Linked DNA regions of Homo sapiens: regions 1, 2, 3 and 5 are each linked to region 4. The links are contacts of gene promoters, found by promoter capture Hi-C in blood cells and fetal thymus (Javierre and others, 2016). All regions are on one chromosome and are shown on one strand. The core of a region is centred on a gene start or on the middle of the fragment in contact, and the rest is flanking DNA. Distances in the headings are between cores, read along the strand shown.

Evidence for each region. Contacts are between HindIII fragments. The CHiCAGO score rates a contact against its expected background, and 5 or more counts as called.
Region 1: a contact is called between a fragment that was not itself captured here and the fragment with the promoter of NME1 in region 4, in 5 of 17 cell types (total CD4 T cells, M0 macrophages, neutrophils and 2 more). The highest score is 7.0, in total CD4 T cells.
Region 2: a contact is called between a fragment that was not itself captured here and the fragment with the promoter of NME1 in region 4, in 5 of 17 cell types (neutrophils, monocytes, M2 macrophages and 2 more). The highest score is 11.0, in neutrophils.
Region 3: a contact is called between a fragment that was not itself captured here and the fragment with the promoter of NME1 in region 4, in 12 of 17 cell types (M2 macrophages, neutrophils, naive CD8 T cells and 9 more). The highest score is 18.4, in M2 macrophages.
Region 5: a contact is called between a fragment that was not itself captured here and the fragment with the promoter of NME1 in region 4, in 17 of 17 cell types (naive CD8 T cells, activated CD4 T cells, total CD8 T cells and 14 more). The highest score is 42.5, in naive CD8 T cells.

What each region holds. Positions count from the first base shown.
Region 1 is chr17:50,899,630-50,902,329 of GRCh38, reverse strand. No RefSeq gene overlaps it. Among named protein-coding and RNA genes, the nearest start is that of TOB1-AS1, 34 kb to the right of the region's middle. The HindIII fragment of the contact is 4,004 bases long and covers 1-2,700 here.
Region 2 is chr17:50,958,181-50,960,880 of GRCh38, reverse strand. No RefSeq gene overlaps it. Among named protein-coding and RNA genes, the nearest start is that of TOB1-AS1, 93 kb to the right of the region's middle. The HindIII fragment of the contact is 1,194 bases long and covers 773-1,966 here.
Region 3 is chr17:51,022,552-51,025,251 of GRCh38, reverse strand. The region is part of intron 6 of SPAG9 (sperm associated antigen 9); the gene reads left to right. Among named protein-coding and RNA genes, the nearest start is that of SPAG9, 97 kb to the left of the region's middle. The HindIII fragment of the contact is 6,346 bases long and covers 1-2,700 here.
Region 4 is chr17:51,152,294-51,155,027 of GRCh38, reverse strand. It overlaps NME1 (NME/NM23 nucleoside diphosphate kinase 1), which reads right to left and starts at 1,469. Exons shown (of 5, transcript NM_000269.3): 1 at 1,366-1,469. It overlaps NME1-NME2 (NME1-NME2 readthrough), which reads right to left and starts at 1,469. Exons shown (of 9, transcript NR_037149.2): 1 at 1,366-1,469; 2 at 584-803. RefSeq lists enhancers at 1,199-1,618, 1,402-1,933, 957-2,156. The HindIII fragment of the contact is 18,411 bases long and covers 184-2,734 here.
Region 5 is chr17:51,001,292-51,004,138 of GRCh38, reverse strand. It overlaps SPAG9 (sperm associated antigen 9), which reads left to right. Exons shown (of 30, transcript NM_001130528.3): 13 at 2,294-2,424. Among named protein-coding and RNA genes, the nearest start is that of SPAG9, 120 kb to the left of the region's middle. The HindIII fragment of the contact is 1,840 bases long and covers 420-2,259 here.

The DNA.
Region 1 (2,700 bases), core at 164-2,663, 250 kb after region 4:
GCTTCAGCCTCCCAAAGTGCTGGGATTACAAGGCATGAGCCACCACACCCGGCCATGTTCCACCTTCTTTAGAAGGCATTTGCTGGCAAGATACCGCCAGCCTCAGCATGTTTTAAACAGATGAAATTGCCCTGGACTATCAAAAGTTTGCCTGGGATGATAAGCCTGTGACATTGCCCCAGTCTGAGCTATCAAAACAATATTTAATCCTGGATTAAATATTGTTGTTACTGCTATTTATTTTATTCAAAGATTGAAAAATAGCTGTGAGGTGCTGAATTTGATACAGGCAGGAAGTCTTGTTAACTAACCCTTATTCCAAGTTGGCTTAAGCCAAACCTGTGCTGTCCAATATGGTAGCCACTAGCCAGATGTGGCTATTTGAATTTAAATTACTTAAGTTAAAATTCAATACCATGAATTTAGTTCCTTCACTGCAATAGTCATATTTGAAATGCTCAATCGCCACATGTTGTTAGTGGCTACCATATTGGACATGGCAGATATGGGACATTTCCATCGCCACGTAAAGTTTTATTGGAGAGTGTTGGTTTCAACACTTAGCCACATATACAGCAGCAGCTTTATCACATAGAACATTTAGAACCTTATCACCTAGAACATCTATATATGGGCCTTATCTGGGATAGACCTTAGAGAAAAAAAATTCAGAGATACGATCCCTGTCCAAAATGCATCTGCAAATCCAGAATGACACTGACACACAGGATTTAAGAGAGTAGAGGACCAATTTCAGACCAAGCAATGATGGACGTGTAAGGGCAAGAGAGAGACACAAATTCAAAGAGAAGGAAACTGCATGTGCAAAGGCAAGAGATGTGAGGGGCTGGCTGTTTGGGGTTGTCCTGGAGTGCTGTAACAAGGAGATATTTGTACTTTAGGATGGTTACTTTGGAGACAGTGAGAGGGCCATGGGAGACCAGGAGGACCAAGGAATAATCCAGAGGGAAACTGAGTTGTCCTTGAACTAAAGCCTGGGCAGTAGGGGTGGAGAGAAGCAGTCAGATCTGAGAGACCTTGGGTCCAGCCTGGATGGGGTAGGTGGGGAGGAGCATGCACTATACCTGGATGGTTCAAGGAAGAGCTGGGACATCTGGGATCAATTGAATGCTGTGGGCTCTAAATTAAAAAGGCTCCACCAGGAAATACCCCAAATGGCTGGTTTCTAGAAGATCAAGGTTGCCAACGCTGACTCCTTCCAAATCATGAAGTATGAGGTTCTGTGCGACTTCAGCCTTCCCTTTGAGTCAATGAGGCAACAAACCTATTGCTGGAAAATGGCGTCCTCCAGGGAGGGTGTCGTGGGGGGCCCCGGGCTCAGTATAGCACAGAATGCACAGCCCTTGGTTGTCCAAACTCTCCACTTGACTTTATTTATAACCCTAATTACACCCTCCAGGAAGAACAGTTGCTGATCAACCCAGTTACAAATTAAAGTTAATAAAATGAAGACAGCAATGAATGGCTGCTGCCCAAGCTGCCAAGGGCTCCGATCAACCCCAAAAGGAGACTGCGGTGCTCCCAGGACTCCAGCCACCAGTGTCCTCATTCACATGCTTGCCGTGGAACCCCCCCCTCCCCTCCCAGCTCGCCTCCCTCCCCTCAGTGGCTCAGTCCACCTGTTGTCATCTCCCATCAGGGATCATCAGGCTTCAGGTTCTCCAGGTTCAGAAACTCATGCCATACCCAGTTGGTCCCCAACCCAGCCTTCTCCCGCCACTACTGCCTCCCCAAGCGGTCACATCAGTTGTCGGTGCCACTGTGTGAAATGAAGCTGCTGTGAGCAGAGCTGTAAGAATCCAAGGACAGGAAACAGGGCCTTCACCTCTTTACTCCTCTCCAGCTCTCTTTTTTCTCTTTGCAGCTCCCTTTCTTATTCATTTCCTGTTATCTTTTTCTCTACCCATCTCCCTCACCCTGTGGCTGACCTTGTCCACATGCCCTGAATGTCCTGAGAGGGGCCCTGAATTCCACCGGTGTCCCAGATGGTCGAGCGGCACTGGCTGCTTCGTTCAGAAGCACGGGCAGCTTCAACGCAGCCTCCAGATTCTGCTGACCCTGTCCATTCCTTTTTCTTTCTAAAGAGAGGAAACTGGAGAGGGAGAGTGGGGGACAATCCTCTCCTCACAGGCCCTGCTCTCTGTGTACTTGGCCCCTCGCTCTACCTCCCTCCGTCTCCTGCAGCTTGCCTCCTGCAGAAACAATTACAGATAGTCAATCTTCATGCCTTGCAATCCACAGCACACCCAGATGAACTGATGCGGGTTATCTGGGAGGATGGAAAAGGATGTGATGACTGGGCCACTTCTCTGCAGCATGTAGAAACCAGTGCACTGGTTAGAGGGCTACTTCTGACCCTCTTTGCCAGCCCCTATAACCCGAGTACCATGCGCATACCAGCCATCAGAGAAAACAGCGAGTTCCCTGGGGTTTAGGATAATCATCCCTGGATATTCTGGCTTGTTCTTGTCTCATATCTGCCCAGCTTTAAACTCTTGGTTCTTGGTTGAGCACGGTGGCTCATGCCTCTGATCCCAGCACTCTGGGAGGCGGAGCTGGGAGGATCGCTTGAGCCCAGGAATTCAAGACCAGCCTGGGCAACGTAGGGAGACTCTGTCTCTACAAAAAAATTTAAAAACTAGCTGAGTGTGGTGGTGCACACCTGTAGTCCCAGCTACT
Region 2 (2,700 bases), core at 120-2,619, 190 kb after region 4:
TGCTTGCGAGTCCATTGTCGCCCAGTCCCTCATGAGGCCCAGATAGCCAGTGGGTAGGATTGGATTAATTAGAATTTCCAATTTATCAGAATGACACTATACAAAAGAAGCCACATAGTTTAGCTCCTTGCTTTTAACCACAGAACATTCACTCCCACCCACAGACATAAAGGAGTTACGGAGCTGGGCGCAGTGGCTCACACCTGTTATTTCAGCACTTTGGGAGGCTGAGGCAGGCAGATCACTTGAGGCCGGGAGTTTGAGACCAGCCTGAGCAACATGGTGAGACCCCCATCTCTACAAAAAATTTTAAAAATTAGCTGAGTATGGTGGTGTGGACTTGTAGTCCCAGCTACTTGGGAGGCTGAGGTAGGAGGATCACCTGAGCCCTAGGGAGGTTGAGCCTGTCTCCAAAACATAAGAAGTTATAATTTGATTTGAAGCACCAAAGGAGAAGTGGACCAAATAAGCCCCGGCTCCGTGGGAACAGCGACTTCAGTTAGAAGCTGCAGTTCTCAGCTAGGCTGGGAGAGAGAGGCATGGCCAGAATCACCCCGGGAGCTATTCACAGAATAAACATTTTTTTCTTTTTCTCTCCTCTCAAGAATATCAGACTCTATTGGGGAACATGGGGAAACAATTACCAGGTGATTCTGATCCTCCCATTGGGAACATCTGCCCAAGAGGAACTCAGGCTGGGCACGGTGGCTCACACCTGTCATCCCAGTGCTTTGGGAAGGGAGGTGGGAAGTTAATTGCTACATTAAAAGCTTAAAGGAAATATTTTATTTCCTATTAGTCTGTATTCACGTGTCAGGGCTATTTCCTGATTTTTTTTTTTTTTTCTAGAAAAAGCCATAACCATTTAGTTGTTATCATGCCTAGCTTGCATTTGCATAACATCTGATAGTTTTTTCTGAAGTATTTAGCCTATAAATTCATAGTTGATCTTCATGGAAACCCCCTTTTTAGAGTGTTACAGCTTTCAGATGATCCAGAGGCCTAACCACAGATGTGGCCTTGCCCACTGGTAAAGAGGTCCGACTGAGACAAGTAAAGGCTCAGGTGCCTCAGTGGGCGGTACAACAACTGAACACTGGAGGCTACTGCAGGTGTGTTGGGACAAGTGCCACATCTCAAATCAGGAGACTTGGGTTTGAATCCTGGATCTCCTGTTTCCCAGTTTTGTGACCCTTCAGTCACAGTTTCCTTACTGTCAGAAGAGTAACACCCCCAAGGGTTCTTGCCACCTGGCCCTGCTAGGCACTCAGTAGCAGACCTGAGGTTCCTAGATGCCAGGTGTCTGAAGATGACTATGACACTCTCAAGGAGACTGGGCTAGTCAAGGAAAGCAGATGCGGAAATGGTGACGTGATCAAGTGCTGTGGCTGCATATTAGAAGCAGTAGTTGAACAAATGATGTAGGTATGGTATCTACTTTGTAATGTGATAAAAAGAAAAACTGCCTGCAAGTCCTGTTGAATGCAGAATATTCTTATCTCTATTCTATTTACCAGGGTTCCAGGCCATGTCTGTCCTAACAGAACTGTGTTAGGAAGCAGGGGTCGCTTGGGCCTATTGGACCTTCTGGGGAATACTGTTCTCTGTTGTCCCACCCCACCCCCCCCCCATTTTAAGGAAAAGGAGTATCCCGTGAAAATTAAACACAAGATAATTCATACTCTCTTTTGCATCTAAGAGTTAATTTCATTCCTATGCAGGCACATTGAGGGGCATACTGAAGCATGAAAGAGTGGTAAATTTCACATTTTCAGATGTCCTCAAAACATTTATTCAGTATCTGTTGCTCATAATGCTTTATGACAATAATTAAACTCACAGTCACTGCATATAAGTGGGTAGAGCAGATAAAAAGGACCAAATAAGATATTAGCATCATCAGATGTACAATGGTGTGGAACAGTGGCAAGGATGGTCGTATGCTTCTCTACATGATTAAAAAGCTTAGCATCACTCCTTCTAAGCAAGAATGCAAAATTCTGGCTCATATATCACACCAGAGGGGTCTTTGGGAGAAAGGGCTGTCACCTTGGGGTTCCTGAAACATGGCTTTAATGTGAAGTGGGATTAAGATTTTTTGTAGGACGTCTCAGGTACAGAGATACCCAAAGAGACTGGAATGGTGTTTCAGAAACTTGGATTTCCTCATCAGTTGTATTGTCATGATGGTCTCTCATTCACAGGATTGTTGGAAAGAACCAATGAGATCACATAAAGATGTAGTACTCGACAGTTAACAGATACTTGTATGCTTCCCCCACAGAGGCCTCGATTTATTTTCCTGCTATTCTTTCTCATCAAGCTGACTTTCCCCTGCGTTTGGCCAGCCCCAGACAAGTGACAGTGGGTTTGAGTTCCAAATTCAGGAGAGCATTTTCAGCTGTTTGCCTGTTGGTGCATTTTGGCCTGATAGGCTTCTGAGCAAGCAGGCTTTTACTATGTATGCCGTCTACATTTCTGTCTTGGAGAGTTTGCCTGGGGCTGTTCATAAGGAACTAGGAGCAGAAATCTGGCATGTGATTCTTACAGACATCTCAAACGTTGATCCTTCCTGAAGGAGCCTAGCTGGAGAAGAGCAGAAACGGGGCAGATGCCTCTAGGCAGGCCTTGACTGATTTAAAGTCCCAGTCCTGGGCTTCACTCGATTAAGGGTTTATCAGACCTTCCCACCCATATTAA
Region 3 (2,700 bases), core at 142-2,641, 130 kb after region 4:
CCGTCTCCTGGGTTCAATGATTCCTCTGCCTCAGCCTCCTGAGTACCTGGGATTACAGGCATGTGCCACCATGCCTGGCTAATTTTTGTATTTTTAGTAGAGACGGGGTTTCCCCATGTTGGCCAAGCTGGTCTGGAACTCCTGACCTCAACTAATCCACCTATCTCGGCCTTCCAAAGTGCTGGGATTACAGGCGTGAGCCACTGCACCTGGCCAATTTTTTTTTTTTTTTTGAGATGAAGTCTTGCTCTGTTGCCCAAGCTGGAGTGCAGTGGCGCAATCTTGCCTCACTGAAACCTCTGCCTCCTGGGTTCAAGCGATTCTCCTGCCTCAGCCTTTTTTATTTTATTGTGGTAAGAACATTTAATATGAGATCTACCCTCTAAAAATTTTAAGTGTACAATACATTATTATTGTTTTATGTGATGGGATCTTGCTGTGTTGCCCAGGCCATTCAAGCGATTCTTGTGCCTCAGCCTCCGAAGTAGCTGGGATTACAGGCATACATGAAGTATTGTACAATTTTTTTTTTTTTTTTGAGACAGAGTCTTGCTCTTTTTGCCCAGACTGGAGTGCAATGGTGCAATCTCAGCTTACTGCAACCTTTGCCTCCTGGGTTCAAGTGATTCTCCTGCCTCAGCCTCGCTAATAGCTGGGATTACAGACGTGTGCCGCCACGCCCGGCTGATTTAGAGACGGAGTTTCTCCATGTTGGCCAGGCTTGTCTCGAACTCTTGACCTCAGGTGATCTGCCTGCCTCGTCCTCCCAAAGTGCTGGGATTACAGGCATGAGCCACCACGCTTGGCCAAAGTATTGTACTCTTAACATGGATATGCTATTTTATTTTTATATGTTGTGTAAAATATATTGTACAATATATTATAATTAATATGTACAATATACTGTAATTAATAGTGATACAGTATTGCAACTGCCATTAAAATGATGTTGACATCAGTGTGTAATTTTATCACTAATGCTTTTCCTTTTTTGGAGAGAGTCTCGCTCTATCCCCCAGGCTGGAGTGCGGTGGTGCGATCTCAGCTCACTGCAACCTCTGCCTCCCGGGTAGCTGGAATTACAGGCACCTGCCACCATGCCTAATTTTTGTGTTTTTAGTAGATTACGGGTTTCGCCATGTTGGCCAGGCTGGTCTCAAACTCCTGACCTCAGGTGATCCGCCTGCCTGGGCCTCCCAAAATGTCGGGATTTCAGGCGTGAGCCACCGAGCCTGGCTGCTAATGCCTTTCGTATTGTATTTTCAAATTTTCTATTTAGAAAAATCGGCTGGGCGCAATGGCTCACGCCTGTAATCCCAGCACTTTGGGAGGCTGAGGCCAGCAGATCGCTTGAGGCCAGGCATCTGAGACCAGCCTGGGCAGCGTGGCAAAACTCCGTCTGTACCAAAAATACAAAAAATTAGTGGGGCATGGTGACGCACGCCGGTAATCATAGGTGCTCAGGGGACTGAGGCACGAGAATCGCTTGAGCCTGGAAGGTGGAGGTTGCATTGAGCTGAGATTATGCCACTGCACTCCAGCCTGGGTGACAAGAACGAGACTCTGTCTTAGAAAAAAAAGAAGAATTTCATGTACGCCTGGAAAAATACGATTTACTTAAATATTTCCCAATTATTTGCAGAGGAGCTAGAGAGATTATTTATTGATAATCGGTGACTCTTTATTGCCTTTTAAAAAAATTGTGACTTTCTCTGGGCAAATTTATTTCTTAACCAATTTTTAAAGTACTTTAGAATAAATTACTCAATTAAAATTTCTTTTAAATTACTTCTATTTGTAGGTTGAACTTTCTGATGTTAGCCAAGGTGGATCTAAAGCTACCACTTCAGCATCAATAGCTAAATCGATGTGGCAATAATTCCTGCTGATACTCCCTTAAGGGAATTATATATAGTATATATAATTTATAATTAAAATATTATAAATTAATAAATTATAAAAATATATAATTATGTATTATAATTATACTAATAGTTACTATTATAATAGTTATAAATTATAAAAATATATAATTATGTATTTAGAATTATACAAATAGTTACTATTATAATAATAGTTAATATTTTAAATTCTTAGTATGTGTGAAACACATTGCTAAGCCATAATGTAGAATAACTTAATAAGAATCTTAAGAAGTAGATACTGTTATCTATATTTTACAGATGATAAAACAAAGGTTTAGAAAGAATACATTACTTACCCAAGGTCATACATTTAGTGAATGATAAATTCACTTAATTTACCCTAACCCTGATTTATTATTATTATTATTATTATTATTATTATTTTGAGATGGAGTTTCACTCTTGTTGCCCAGACTGGATGCGATCTCAGCTCACTGCAACCTCTGCCTCCCGGGTTCAAGTGTTTCTCCTGCCTCAGCCTCCCGAGTAGCTGGAATTGCAGGCATGCGCCACCATGCCCGGCTAATTTTTTGTATTTTTAGTAGAGACAGGGTTTCTCCATGTTTGTCAGGCTGGTCTTGAACTCCCGACCTCAGGTGATCCGCCTGCCTCGGCCTCCAAAAGTGTTGGGATTACAGGCGTGAGCCACTGCACCCGGCCTATTGTTATTATTATTATTATTATTATTATTATTAGTGGTGGTGGCTGTAAACTTTTTGTCAGTTTCTCTTTTCTTAAAACCTGGGTGCTCCAAAAGAACTGCTTCATTTTTGAT
Region 4 (2,734 bases), core at 220-2,719:
CCTCAAGTAATCTGCCCACCTCAGCCTCCCAAAGTGCTGGGATTAAAGGCGTGAGCCCCATGAGCCTGGCCACCATTTGATTTAATAAGCTTCTTTTAAACATCTACTGTGTACCAAACACTGCGGTGGAACTAGGATACAGGATGTTAAAAACAAGGCACTATCTTTCTCAATAATCAAGCTTGGGAGAAACTACACTGATGAAAAGTTTTACTAATGTGAAAGTGATGTCCGGTACAAAGCAGTAAGAAATAATAGTTTGACTTAATGCCACAGCCATAGCATTAGGGGTTTTAGAGAATATATCTTTACAACCCCCTTCATTTTACAAATGAGGAAACAGGACCACAGCACCAGAATGAAGGCCAAAACCCAGCATTCCCAACCCATTAATCCATTCTTGTAATGTTATGCTACACTTTACAATGCAAAGAATATTTTGACTAGCCAATAAACGGTGGGGTGTGGGAGAACTACAGACATTAGGAATATCTGATACGGGACATCATACTGAAAGGAAGCCTAGAGAGTAACTATTCCGTCCAGATCCCTCATTTTACAGAAGACTGCGCTCATGACCTACCCTGTATCACAGCTTGAGATAGGAGGCCCCTCGCCTTGAAAGACGATCCCTAAAGTAGACAGTAGCACCATCTCTTGGCCCCATCTTCCTGTCCTTTAGTTAACCTCTTCTTACAGCATCTTAGCACTGTAGTCCAATTTTCTGTTTGTGTGTCTGCCTCCCCTGCACACCAGGCTGACTTAGTCCTGTGTAGAGACTCTATGGTACCTAGCCACAGGGCCTAGCAGTCAATAGGAGCAAAGAAAATCATTTATCACCATTCTGCAACTTCCAAAAAAAAAAAAAGAGAGAGAGACAAAGCCCAAAGACTGCGGAGAATCGCACGATGGGGTGCGGGGCAAGCATAAATTGTCCAGGAGAAAACAGGACTAAAGCGCCAGAAATACACCCTAAAAATGTCCCTCCACATCGGTCCCGGTGACACAACAGTAAGCACTCAGTGCTTGCTGAATGAATGACACACACACCCGTCATTTATTCAGCAAGCACTTACAGAGCGCCAACTCCGTGCCCGGCACTGCTCTCGACAGACACAAATAAGGCACAGCCCTGTCGTCGCGGCCTGACGAGAAAGGCGGCCACCGACAAAGGCGAGTCCACGTGGCGTGGGACGTGCGCCGACCGGTCTGCACTTGTCCACAGGCGCTCCCTGCCCCTCCTCCCATCCGATCCTCCTCGCCGCCTCTTAGAGCTGAACTCATCTCTTCACTAACTCCTCACCTAACCCACTCCCGCGACTACACTCCTTTCTTTTTCCTCTCAGGATCCCGAACACCTCTTACCCTTCCAGCTGCTTAGGTTTGAACTCCGGCTGCAGCCGCCAGCACCCGAAACGCGCCCGGGACCCACGTGGTTCGCAGCACTTGCACGCACGGAACGCTTCTGCGCAGATCCGCTGCCGGAGAGCCCATTTTGCAGAACACCGCTCGCCCACGCTTCCTCTTGGGAGTAGGCAGTCATTCTAGGGAACAACTTTCTGCAGTTTAACTTCCGGCGCTAGCTTTTTCAGACCTTTCCGGTTAGCTGCTTGCTTTCTTCTCTCCACCCCCGGGTTCTCTGACTCACTTCCTTCGTTCGCGAGCAAATTGGCTTCCCGAGAGGTGGCGCTCACACGTTGCGTGAAGTCCAAAGAGTGCCTGACCTAGAAGTAGACTTTTCGCTCCCGCTTTGTGTTTATTCACCTTTTCTAGCCTGTCAAGCAAAAAATTTTGAGTACCTACTACGTGGACGCATTATTCTAGGCCCTAGGGATAAAACAGTATGCTCTCTTGGAGCTTCTGGGAGGGATGGGAGTATAGGAAAACAAGAAGCAAATAAGCAAATTAATATGTAATAGATCGCATTTTGTAAGTGCTGTGAAGAAAAGGCCAGAGAAATCTCTGAGTAAGTGATAATAGAATAGACCTGCATGAAGTGAGGGAGCCAGCCCAGTGATTCTTCGAGAGCCAAGTATTACGGTGGACATCGAGTGGTGGAAAATGCCGTTAGAATAGAGCCAAATCTTATGTTGTGAGATGCTAATACAGATTTTGCACAAGGCATGACATCATCACTAACAAAAAAACATTCCCACTGCTCTAAGGGGAAATGAACGGGGGAAAGGTACAAAAATGGAATCAGGAGCCGTTTCAACAAATGATGCTGGAGCAATTGGACGAATATAGACCCAAAGAACCTCAACCTAAACCTCTCACCTTATACAAAATTTACTCAAAATGAATCATAGATTTAAATGTAAAACAATAAATCACTTATGGGGAAAAAAAAAGTTAAAAAAAATCCTCAGGACCTAGGGCCAGGCAAATAGTTTTTAGACGACACCAAAAGACCAATCTATACAGGGAAAAAGTTGATAAATTGGAACTTACTGAAATTTAAAACTTTTGGCCGAGCGCGGTGGCTCACGCCTGTAATCCCAGCACGCTGGAAAGCAGCGGCGGGAGGATCACTTGAGCTCAGGAATTCGAGACCAGCCCGGGCAACATAGTGAAACCCCGTCTCTACTAAACATACAAAAATGAGCCGGGCGTGGTTGCAGGCGCCTGTAGTCCCAGCTACTCGGGAGGCTGAGGCAGGAGAATCGCTTGAACCCGGGAGGCAGAGGTTGCAGTGAGCCGAGATTGCGCCAGGGCACTCCAGCCTGGGTGACAG
Region 5 (2,847 bases), core at 90-2,589, 150 kb after region 4:
TATATATGGTTTAATTTTTCCTTTTTTGTGTTTCACACTACATTTAGTCTTGGAGACCAGCTTCTTTTCCTCAGTGGCATGTTTTTGAGATTCATCCGTGTAGTACAGTGCTGTAGTTATCATTCATATTCACTACTTTATGATATCCCATTGAATGAATAGTCACAATTTATGTATTTATTTTCCTGTTAAGGAATATTTAGTTTGTCTCAGCTTTTTACAATGCTGTTGTTACAAACATTACAGTAGAAGTCTCCAGGTGGGCAGGAGCAGTAGCCTTTCCAGAGTACATACCTACTAGTGGGCTTGCTGTGTTATAAACTTAAGATCTTTATCATTTGTTGTTTAACTTTATTGAAAGGAGAGGCCCAGTTTCTATAACAGAACAACAAAGGAGGAGGACTGCTAAGGGCTAAGCTTAGTGTCTTTCTTATGTCCCAAACCTTTCAGCTTTGATCCAAAATGTGGATAATGAAAGCCTATAGGACGTTGACTTGAGCCATGTTCCCTTGAGGTCTTACCCCTGTGCTCACTCTATATTCACATACTCTGTCTAAGAGTAATTCTGGCTAATACAGTTGTCTCCATCTGTTTGCATTTATGTTGGTATTTTAGCGACTCTTATAGTTGAGTACCTTGGTAACTAGGTAATAAGTTTACCCTTAATGCTGGTCTTGGGTGAGTATGTGGTTTGGTAATTTGAGATAAATGGAACTAACTTATAACTATTTTCTGAGTGACGATTGTTACAGAGCATGAATTAAAATAATGGTAGAGCAACATTTTTAGGTGAAACTTACAATAGTGTATTAAATCTATGTAGATAACAATTTTGGTTTTAGTTTAAAATCTGCACTATCCTTTATTTTTATTTTAGTATTATTACTATTTTTTAGAGACAGAGTCTTGCTCTGTCACTCCTCCAGGCTGGAGGAGTACAGTGGCAATCATATCCCACCACAGCCTTGAACTCCTGGGCTCAAGTGATCCTCCTGCCTCCGCCTCCCAAGTAGCTGGAACTACAGGTGCATGCCACCCCACCTGGCTATTAATTTAATTTTATTTTTTGTAGAGCCAGGGTCTCACTATGTTGCCTAGGCTGGTCTTGAACTCTTGGCCTCAAGCAATTCTATGCTTTTTTTTTTTTTTTAACTTCAGCCTCCTGAGTAGCTGGGACCAAAGTTGTGCGCCACCCCATACGTGGCTAATTTTTTATTTTCTGTAGAGATGGGATCTCACACCACATTGCCAAGGCTGGTCTCAAATTCCTGGGCTCAAAGTGATACTCCCAAAGTGCTAGGATTATAGGCGTGGACCATCGTGCCTGGCCCTACTGTTTGTTTTTGTTGTTGTTTTTGTTGTTGTTGTTGTTTTGTTTTTTAAAGACAGGATTGCACTCTCTTGCCCAGGTTGGACTGCAGTGGTATGGTCATGGCTCACTGCAGCCTTGACCTCCCAGCTGAAGCAATCCTCCTACCTCAGCTTCCCAAGTAGCTGGGACTACAGGTGTGTGCCACCACTCCTGGCTACAGGGTTTTACTATGTTGCCCAGGCTGGTCTCAAACTAAGCTCAAGCATTGTACCCGCCTCAGACTCCCAAAGTGCCGCGACTACAGGCGTGAGTCACTGCGTCCAGCCCCCTACTATTCTTTTTATTTTTTAGCTTTATTTTTTATATATTTTTAAGAACCATGAGAACAGACCCACACTACTCTTTATGATTTCTTTATAATATGTTCAAATATCTGTGTATATATATTCAGAAATTAAATTGCTGCCTTTTATCTTTGTAGTCATGAGTGATTATTTAAATCTCTTTGTTGGCTGGGCACAGTGGCTTACACCTGTAGTCCCAACACTTTGAGAAGCTGAGGCAGGAGCACCACTAGAGTCCAGTATTTCAAGATGAGCCTGGGCAACATAACGAGACCCTGTCTCTACAAAAAAATTTAAAAATTAGTCAGGCGTGTTGACATGTACCTGTAGTCCAAGCTACTCAGGAGGCTGGGGTGGGCAGATTGCTTTAACCCAGAAGTTCCAGGCTGCAGTGAGCTATGATTTCACCACTGCACTTCAGGGTGGGCAACAGATCAAGGCCCTGTCTCAAAAAATATATTTTTTTAAAAAAAAGTCTTTGTTGATTTTGTTTTTATAAAGCCATTTTTCTTTAAATGATCTACTAGATTAAAAATTAAGGAATGCTTAAAAACTGAAAGATTTTGCATAACTCTGAGATGAACACCAAGACATTTATAAGCTTCCAGAATGATATGTCATTTTCTTGTCATTATAGAGTGATATTCCCACAGCCCAGAGGAAACGGTTTACTAGAGTAGAAATGGCCCGTGTTCTCATGGAGCGAAACCAGTATAAAGAGAGATTGATGGAGCTTCAGGAAGCTGTTCGATGGACAGAGATGATTCGGTTTGTATGACAAGCGCTCCATTATTTTCCTACTATTATTTTGTAGGTTTGAATATTCCTTCATGTGGAACTTAAGTCCTGCCCTGTAAGATCCAAGCCCCTTTCTCTGTTTACTAGGAGAGACTTTTTAAAGTAACACTCAGAATTAGCAACAGAATGTGATCAAAGGAGGTGCTTTTTGGGCCAGTAAGGGATCTTGGAGGATGTTACTACGACCTCTAAAAGGCAATTATTATTACTTAGGAATGATGGTCATTTTTCAAATATAGAAATCAATACTACTTACCCAGTAATGTCAGGAAAAGATCACAATTTCATATGCAACACAGGAAAATAAATTATTTTGACTCAGTGTCTTTCTGTAAAATACTCTTGCTTGATTTCTTTCTCTCTTTTCTAACTGTTCATGCCAAGTACACCCTT